Regions from separate parts of the Homo sapiens genome. Here regions 2 and 3 are each linked to region 1. The links are contacts of gene promoters, found by promoter capture Hi-C in blood cells and fetal thymus (Javierre and others, 2016). All regions are on one chromosome and are shown on one strand. The core of a region is centred on a gene start or on the middle of the fragment in contact, and the rest is flanking DNA. Distances in the headings are between cores, read along the strand shown. Region 1 holds the start of APOH (apolipoprotein H). Region 2 has its middle 100 kb from the start of RGS9. Region 3 overlaps CACNG5 (calcium voltage-gated channel auxiliary subunit gamma 5).

Evidence for each region. The method cuts DNA at HindIII sites, captures the fragments that hold promoters and counts their contacts. A CHiCAGO score of 5 or more calls a contact.
Region 2: a contact is called between a fragment that was not itself captured here and the fragment with the promoter of APOH in region 1, in 1 of 17 cell types (M2 macrophages). The highest score is 5.4, in M2 macrophages.
Region 3: a fragment that was not itself captured here is called in contact with the fragment with the promoter of APOH in region 1 in 1 of 17 cell types (M2 macrophages); the score reaches 5.0 in M2 macrophages.

Annotation. Positions count from the first base shown.
Region 1 is chr17:66,227,977-66,231,206 of GRCh38, forward strand. APOH (apolipoprotein H) reads right to left here and starts at 1,439. Exons shown (of 8, transcript NM_000042.3): 1 at 1,340-1,439; 2 at 44-220. The coding sequence starts at 1,403. The HindIII fragment of the contact is 12,618 bases long and covers 1-2,518 here.
Region 2 is chr17:65,239,727-65,242,956 of GRCh38, forward strand. No RefSeq gene overlaps it. Among named protein-coding and RNA genes, the nearest start is that of RGS9, 100 kb to the left of the region's middle. The HindIII fragment of the contact is 1,544 bases long and covers 847-2,390 here.
Region 3 is chr17:66,871,151-66,874,380 of GRCh38, forward strand. All of the region lies in intron 1 of CACNG5 (calcium voltage-gated channel auxiliary subunit gamma 5), which reads left to right. Among named protein-coding and RNA genes, the nearest start is that of CACNG5, 38 kb to the left of the region's middle. The HindIII fragment of the contact is 1,447 bases long and covers 927-2,373 here.

The DNA.
Region 1 (3,230 bases), core at 189-2,688:
ATCCAAATGAGGGAAGAGAATGTGAGAGAAGGTACTGACTTACGTGTACATTTCAGAGTGTTGATGGGCCACAGTCCTGTGAGAGGGCAGATAAACTTTCTCATCCCTCCTCGGGACACATAGCCCGGCTTGCAGGAATACGTAATCTCTTCTCCTGGCTCATAGAATGTTTTTAACGGGACCACTGTGGAAAATGGTAAATCATCTGGCTTGGGACAGGCTGAAAGAGGGCACAAAGCAGATGGTTAACAAATCTCTATTTGCATTTTAAAGTTCAGCTAAGCCCACAAATGAAAAATGTGTGTACTGTTACCAATTATAAGCATACCAAGTTGCATGCCAAATACCTCATATACACTATCTCATCTAATCCCCTCAACAACCATTTGAAGGAGGTATTATAATTATCCCCATTTTACAGGTCAGTATGCTGAGGCTTAAATTGGCTACGTATCTTACAGAGGAGCTTTACACATGGCAATATTAAAGAATCAGTATCAATCCAGTCCCTCCAGCATCCACTCTAAAGAGAATTTAGTTATCAGCTGGGCGCAGTTGCTCACACCTGTAATCCCAGCACTTTGGGAGGCTGAGGCGGGTGGATCACGAGGTCAGGAGATAGAGACCAACCTGGCTAACACGGTGAAACCCCGTCTCTACTAAAAATACAAAAAATTAGCCGGGTGTGGTGGCGGGCGCCTGTGGTCCCAGCTACTCGGGAAGCTGAAGCAGGAGAATGGAGTGAACCCAGGAGGCGGAGCTTGCAGTGAGCCGAGATCGCACCACTGCACTTCAGCCTGGCGACAGAGCGAGACTCTGTCTCAAAAAAAAAAAAAAAGAATTTAATTATTCTTCTTCTTATTATTATTATTGTTGACTGAGTTTTGCTCTTGTTGCCCAGACTGGAGTGCAATGGGGGGACCTCGGCTCACTGCAACCTCTGCCTCCCAGGTTCAAGCAATTCTCCTGCCTCAGCCTCCCGAGTGGCTGGGATTACAGGCGCCTGCCATCACGCCCGGCTAATTTTTGTGTTTTTAGTAAAGACAGGGTTTCACTATGTTGCCCAGGCTGGGCTCGAATTCCTGACCTCAACTGATTCGCCCACCTCGGCCATGATGCCCAGCTAATTTTTGTATTTTTCATAAAGACGGGGTTTCACCATGTTGGCCAGACTGGTCTCGAACTCCTGACCTCAGGTGATCCACCTGCCTTGGCCTCCCAAAGTGCTGAGATTACAGATGTGAGCAAGCACGCCCGGCCTACTTATCATTATTGATCCCTGACATATACGAAGGGGTTGGATATATTAATTATTTTTTCAAAAGCAAAAAGTACTTACTCCGTCCTGCAATAGCAACATGGCAGAGAAAACTCGAGAACAAGATGAGCACTGGAGAAATCATTGTGGATGAGTCACACTGGCACTACCAAAGTGGTTTTCGTCTGCTAAAAAGACAGAGCCAAATATGAAAGCGCTTAAACATTAACCATTTTCTGGTGTACTTTTATCTTTGTAAATAGAAGATAAAGTATCATGATTTGAATGGAACTCTGAGACCCACATTCTTTAATCATTTACTTTCCACTTATGTGGCTCTGTTATGAAATCTTTGGGAGATGGTTTCTGTCTTCATAACGTTTTTGTTAATGGCACAAAACAGTTCATTATTGCTTTTGACAGAAACTTGTTGTTTCCGGGGTTGCCTGGACTTCTCATTCTCCATCTTTTGTTTTGTGTATGTTGTAGATGGAACACCAAAAGATCGAAGCTCCTGTTTCACTCACAGCCTTGGCATATAAACTTTGGACAAACACCTACTCTCTGTTCTCAGTCTCCACCTCTCTAAAATGATGTTCCAGTTTTCAGATGTATAATTACAAAGAATGTCTTCCAGGAGGCACTTACAACTTTAATTCCCTACAAACTGAGCTCAACATCCTCTCTTGCAAGCTCCTATAGCTCCAGTTAGGACCTTAGAGCTATCCTTGAATTCTCTATCTTCTCTTACGTCAGATCAATACAAAGTCCTCCTCATCCATTCTTAATATGTCTTGGATCTGTCTAGACAGGTTTCTAGATCTGTTTCAGGAATTTGAAAATTGATTTGAAATTAACAACTTGGGACTCGAAGAAGAAAAAAAAACTTGAGTAGGATAAGATAATGGGCCAGTGCTGATGTTGTTGCTTGAGAGGGTTCGGAAGGGGGGTTGTCTTTGATTCCCTAGTTCTCTTCTACATCATTTGCTCTAAAAAAAAAAAAAAGGATATATAAATGGACAATAGCCAGGCCATATGTGAAAACAGAACTCTGACCCACACATCTGTAGCAACAGGTCTAGAAAGCCAAACCTACAACCTCTATAGCAGTTGGCCCAACTTAAGGCCAACCAGAGAAATCCAAACATATTTCTCTAACCAATCACATGGACACCTCACTTCTAGTTAGTTTCCTTCCATCCTCCCCATACCAACAATCCGTTGGAGCACACCTGAAGCCTTTCCTTTTTTCTATTATAAAGCTTTCCCACTCCTCTGTCTGACTTTGACTTTGAGTCTCTGCCAAACACAACTGTTAATGGCTGCCTCCCTTCCTATAGCAAGCTCTGAATAAATAACCTCCGCTTGCTCTCATTTGGGTGATCTTGGTTTATATCCAGAGGTCTAAAATTCCCTGAGACACATCAGCTTGAGAAATCTCCATCTGTCAGGCAGATGATTCTTAAATTACGATCCTAATGAACATTGTGTTCCATGATAAGAAGAGTGTGCTGCCACTAATGTGAAATAACAGTGGTCCTTCCCTATTTGTCCTTCTAAGGGGAAGGAGATTCTTGTTCTCTGGATAATTCCCAGGTTCCGCTTTATTGTGGAGAATCTCCTTGATGAATGAAGAAGAAAGAAAACTAATGAAGTCAGGAGGAGCCAAGTCGTTCTGTATAGTAAGATCTGAAGTAGAAGGGGAAAAGGAGAGAGAAACCAAAGAGGTCGGGCATCAGTTAAAGAAAATTTGAGAAAAGGTTAAAATTGAGACGAGAATATTTTCAGCAACAGCTACAAACTGAGTGCCTGATATTGAGAGAGGACAAGGAGAAGGGTTTTTAATGATGTTTCCTGGTGGCTGGGCTCCCTTGCATTAGGAAACTTGGGGTAGGGGTGTCGAAATAGTTTATATTCTATTTTAGGTGGTTGTTACTTGGCTACATGCAATTTTCAAAAGCCATCAAGCCAA
Region 2 (3,230 bases), core at 369-2,868, 990 kb before region 1:
GGGGTCAGGGTGTGAGGATCACCAGCTAACTTATGTAAACAGCTCAGATCAGTGGCTGGGACCTGGTGAATGCTTGATGAATATTTCCTCCAAGGTAGTGTTGAAGCAAAGAGGAACCTTGAGAGAGTCTTGCTGGCCCCAGAATGTGGCTCTGTGTGTGTGTATTGGGCTAGTGTGTAGAAAGCATTCGTTCCTTTGATGAACATGTAGCAGAAAAGGTCAGAAACATAAGAAAATAATCACAGAACACTTACATTTGATAAATGAAAAATAACATGTTAAAATATGATCCCATATAAAATGAGAAGGCACTGAATGAAGGAGACAACTACTTCAGTAAGGAGCTGAAATAAAGTATTTTCTGGGATGATCGTGTCCTTGGAAGACTAGGAGTCAGTGTTCAGGGACAAAGAAAGAGCAGTGCCTATTTCAAGCTGTAGGGAAATCTGGGCACCTATTCAGGAACTGTTATGGCTGGCTCTGTGTCTCCACCCAAATCTCATGTTGGATTGTAATTTCCAATGTCAGGGGAGGGACCTGATGGGAGGTGATTGGATCATGGTGGTGGATTTTTCCCTTGCTGTTCTTGTGATAGTGAGTGAGCTCTCACAACATCTGGTTGTTTAAAAGTGTGTAGCACCTCCAGCTTCATTTTCTTTCTCCTGCTCCCACCATGTAAGATGTGCTGGCTTTCCCTTTGCTTTCCACCATGATTGTAAGTTTCCTGAAGCCTCCGGTACAGCCTGCAGAACCATGAATCAATTAAACCTCTTTTCTTTATAAATTACCCAGTCTCGGGTAGTTCTTTATAGCAGTGTAAGAATGGACTAATACAGGAACACAACAAGCTTTTTATCCAGCAGCATCCACATACTTGACATACTTGACCCAAGTCGCAGGCTTCCATTGCATATGGGATTAGTTAGACATTAGAAAGACCTAGATGGCAGAGGTCTCTGCTTTTTTTGTAGAATGCGCAGTCCTGGTCCTTCCCTCTGCTAAACCTTAGTCTTTTCTCCCTATTCTTGGGCTTCTAGGCAAAGGGAATTTGAAGGATTGCAGTAACACAGTACTCTTGGGACTTCTGGCCAGTCTTCTGGGTAGGCCTTTGTCCCTGTGTCATGGTTCTTGAATTTTGTGTGTATGGCTCATTACCTTCATCTCAATATATTTCAACAATGGGAACTTCTGCGGGGCACAACTCATGTCCACAGCCTCGTCTATGTACAGAGCCCAAAGCAGCACCACTATCAGTTTGGGGTTTAGGGTGTTGAAGATGTTGAGTTGTCAGTTATTGAGTTAAAAATCTCCTGATTATATAGAAAATGTCCAGATATATCACTTTATCAATGGAGGCCAATATTGTGAATGAGTGGCCCTTTTATTATTTCACATTTATATCTCCCATTTAATCTCTAGCATTCTTGTTAAAACAGATAAAGTCCATGACTTCACAGCAGTCAGTGGCCTGGAATTTTGTCTTTTTAAAAAGATTTCTAGCTGGGCATGGTGGCTCACGCCTGTAATCCCAGCACTTTGGGAGGCCGAGGCGGGCGGATCACGAGATCACAAGTTCAAGACCAGCCTGACCAACATGGTGACACCCCGTTTCTACTAAAAAATACAAAAATTAGCCGGGTGTGGTGGTGTGCGCCTGTAATCCCAGCTACTCAGGAGGCTGAGGCAGGAGAATTGCTTGAACCTGGGAGGCGGAGGTTGCAGTGAGCAGAGATCACGCCATTACCCTCCAGCCTGGGCAACAGAGTGAGACTCCATCTCAAAAAAAAAAAATTTCTAAAGGTGATTTTACTGAAACACTAGTCGTGCTGGATTAGGGTGGGCCATAAGCCCAATGACCAGAGTCTTCATATGTAGTGGGAGGACAACACAGAGGCACACAAAGGTAAGAAGTTCATGTGAAGATGGAGGCAGAGATTGGAGTGAGGCAGCTGTAAGCTGTGGAACCCCAGGGATTGCTTGGAGCCATCAGAGGCTGGAAGAGGCAACAAAGGACCCTCCCCTAGCCTCAGAGGGAGCACAGCCCTGCCAAAACCTTGACTTTGGACTTGTAGCCTCCAGAACTAATAGAGAATTAATTTCCGTTGTTTTAAGCCACCTTGTTTGCGGTCCTTTGTTACAGCAGCTCTGGGGAATTCATAAGGTAGGCTTGTATCATAGTTCGATTATTCTCCTACAGATGAACATTGTTTCCAACTTTTCATCAAAACAAATGCTGTTGTAATGAACATCCTTGTACATTCCTCTGTGCGCATCTATAAGTATCTCCCTGGGATGGAAACCAAAGGCCAGGTATGGTGGCTTATGCCTGTAATCCCAGCACTTTGGGAGGCCAAAGTGGGAGGATTGCTTGAGCCCAGGAGTTGAAGATAAGCTTGGGCAACATAGGGGACCCTGTCTCTACACAAAATTTTTCAAAAATTAGCTGTGTGGTGGTGCATGCCTATAGCCCCAGCTACTTGGCAGGCTGAGGTGGGAGGATTGCTTGAGCCTGGGAGGTCGAGGCTGCAGTAAGCTTTGATTGCACCATTGTGCTCCAGTTCCAGCCTGAATGACAGAGTGAGAGCTTGTCTCAAAAAAAAAAAAAAAAAAAAAGGAAAAGAAAAGAAACTAAAAAGAGGAATCGCTGGGTTAGAGTATGCATATTTTAAGACCAATCTTCCATGCCAAATAGTCTTTTTAAAAAATTTATTTTATTATATTTGTTTGTAGAGACAGGGGTCTCCCTATGTTGGCCAGGATGGTCTCAAACTCCTGGGCTCAAGCAATCCTCCCACCTTGGCCTCTCAAAGTGCTGGGATTACAGGCATGAGCCACCATGCCTGGCCACCAAATCACCTTTTTAAAGTCTGTACTAATTTAGATTGCTACCAATAATGCATGTATGAGGATAATCATGCCCTTACATCCTAGCTGGAACTGTTAGGAACACTTTCACATTGTTGGTGCTAGCATTTACTGCAGCAGTGAGACCACGTGGGGCTGAGCACCACATTCTTCTGGAGGCCAAGAATGTTAGGGGCTCTGGTCCTCCTGCAAACTCCTAACCCTGGGAGGACAGAGATGATAAGGATGACCAGAGAGACTGCAGGGCATGAGCCTCCCTGCCTGTCCTCTGGTGTATCCTAGCCTGTGCCAGGTGATTCAGCCTCAGTGGGGCTTTTGGTGCTTGTCTTGTGCCACCAGCATCAGTGGTCCCAGTGTAAAGCTTA
Region 3 (3,230 bases), core at 400-2,899, 640 kb after region 1:
TGGTGGGAAGCAGGCAGGGCCAGAGAAGCACTGGGGGTTTTCCTCTGGTCACCAGCCCATCCTGCTGGACACTGGCTACGCTGACACTGAGTCACTGGACAAGCTCCCAGGAGCAGCTCTTGTCACTGGCTCCAAAGCTTTGTCAAAAACCCCTACACCATGAACCTTTTATCAAAGCACTCTGAGTTTTCTCTGAGCCAGTAGGAAACTGAGATCAGGGTGTCTGCATTTGACTCTCTTTCCACTTCCTTCCTCCTTCTCTCCAATTAAACCCCATCCATCCTTCCCAGCAATTGATAACTGGGCTCTCACTTGCTCCTCTAACCTCACCTACCTCTGGGCACCTAAGCACTTCATTGCAAGTCCTTTTATTATTGGCTTGAGCAGGGGAATGTGCCATTAATGATTTAATCTCCACAAGACATTTCTCCCTAATTGCTAGTCATGGATGATAATTAGCGACTGTTAATTCCTGATAATTAACAAGCTAATACTTAGAGGTAATGGCGCCTGGGTAATCATCTTAAAAAGCTCCTGTTTCTACTAAAAATACAAAAAAATTAGCCGGGCGTGGTGGCAGGCACCTGTAGTCCCAGCTACTCAGGAGGCTGAGGCAGGAGAATGGCGTGCACCTGGGAGGCGGAGCTTGCAGTGAGCCAAGATCGCACCACGGCATTCCAGCCTGGGTGACAGAGCGAGACTCCATCTCAAAAAGAAACAAACAAACAAACAAAAAACTCAAGAAGGCTGCCTGCTTCTGGAACCCAGCCCTCAAAAGATGACACTACATGTTGCCATCTCCAGCCCAGGAGTTTAGCTGGAGCCCTGCACTTTTGTATACAAGGAGAGTGATTGGAGAATAGATCACTCTAATCTTTAATTTAGTTTTCTTCTCTGATTCTGGAAACAATACATGTTCTTTGAGAAGCTTTGTTGAGCACAGAGAAGTATTTTAAAAACCATGCATAACCTAATTACCTGGAAGCAGCCATCATCAACATTTTGGGTTATTTCTTTCCAGTCTGTGAATTTTGTATACGGTTGAGTTTAAGTTAAAAGTGTGATGTTGCATTCAACTTCATTAATTTACTATTATAGTGTAAACATTTTATCTTGTGATAGCAACTTATAAAAAATGGCTCCTCTCCTATAAGAAAAATCAAATGAACATGAGATTCATGGGATAGAGAAGGAACCATGTAAAAGCAGAAGCTCGAACAAGGGTCTAGGAATACAGTTCAGACTAGGGTGTCTTCAAGGGCCTTCCTGTCCCTACTGAAGACACTGGGTGAGAGAATATGTACACACATGCACAACTACGTAGAAAAAAAGACTAAAAGGCAATGAACTAAGATATTAATGATGATGGTGTTCTAAGAGTGGGAAAGTGCAGGTAATTTTCATTTTCTGTGTTATATAATTTTCTGCGCAATACAGAAGGAAAAAGCACTGGGTCAGGATCTAAACTATTGCTGGTGCACACTTTTATCTTTTCAAGTAACTGTTTGGGTTATCCCAGGCACTTCTCCCCTCTGGATCTTGATTTCCTGTGTGTGCTTTGAGGAAAGTATTAGTCCTGCCACCCCACTAGGTGGGTTTCAGAAGTAGAAATCCTGGGTCAGAGTGCACCTCCAAGAAGCTACCAGAAGATATGACTGGATGACTCCCAACAATATGCCCTATAGTATCAAACGAGAAGCCTTTATGTGACACTTGGCCACTTCTAAAGAAACATTTCTGAATACTGTGTCTCGTACATTTCTAGATAGCCTGAGTGACCTACTTTGGATTATTTTCCTTCTTCCCAACACTCTTTGAGCCCATATTTCTTCAGTAGCGAGATGATGTAGTCCAAGCATAGACTTTGGAGTTAGACCTGGGTTTAAAGCCAGCCTACGGCTCACCTGTGCTTTCCTGTAGGCTACTCCACATCTCTAACCCTGAGTTTCTCCATCCACAAAGTGGGGCTGATCCCACCTACTCACAGGGTTATCGTGAGGTCCTGATGAAACCCTGTACCTGAAGGATTTTGCACAGTGCCTGGGAGCTAAACCTACTCAGTCAATAATATGATTTATTTATAAATAAATAGGATTACATAATAGAAGCATAGATATAATTTTGTAATGAATAAGATTGCTATTTTCCACCCCAGGTAGCATTCCATAAATGTATTACATACTCTGGAAATAGATGAAACTTTTTGGTTTTCCTAGGTATATTCCAGGCTTTAGGATCTGCTATTGTAGAGTTTGGCAGGCAAGGTCACTTTCAGCCTCTTTTATTTCTCGCTTTTGTAGATTAAGATCCAATCTCCTCTCCACTTTCATCTTTCCAAATCTCCAAACATGAATCTTTTTCATCTCCCTGCCAAGCTTAACATTAAGATTGGCTGCTCAGCTTCGACCAGGCAACAGCAGTCGTGCTTCAGAAGCTCTGATCCATTCTCTCTGCAAGACTCAGGGGCTTAGTCCACTGTTGCTTAATAACAATACCTTATACCAGGATCATGCTTTAGACTTTTTTCAAAGCATAGTCATATCTGCTGTCGTGTTTAATCACACCAGCAATTTTGTGGAGTGAGCAAGGCAGGTCTTCCTATTCTTCCTGGCAGGCAGTGTGGTTCCCAAAGTGGGTTTCACAGAACATGATGTCTTTTTTTTTTCTTTGCTCAAATAAGTTTGGAAAATACAGAAATAAGCAAAGCTAAGCAGGCTTTTCAAAGCCTTTACCATAATGTGCAATGCGGTTCTTCAAGAGCTAGGTGCAGTGCTTCTCACAAGCTGTTTTTTTTTTTTTTTTCCTTTTAACCAGAGTCACTTTTTCTAGAATATTCCATGGAATTATTGCTCCATGGACCCCACTTTGGATAAACTCATGGGGTGGGAGTTTGAGAACGCAAGCCTTGAAAAAGGGCTTGGGAGTGGGGCAAGGTAAGGTTCAAATGCAGGCACCAACATTTGCCAGCTGAGTGCTCTTGTGCAAGCTTCTTAACCTCACTGATCATCAGTTTGCTCACCTGTAAAATGGGTGTGGTAATAGAATAGCCAGGATTAAAATGGGGAGTAAGGTGCTTAACAGGATGCCTAACAATGATAAACGTTCAATGTACTTTGGTGTTTATTATTAGTCTCTTCCTCCATGTTATCCAGGAGAAAATCAGTCTTCAGAGAGTGTCTTAGTTTGTTCTGTGTTGCTATAACAGAATACCTGAGACTGGATAATTTATA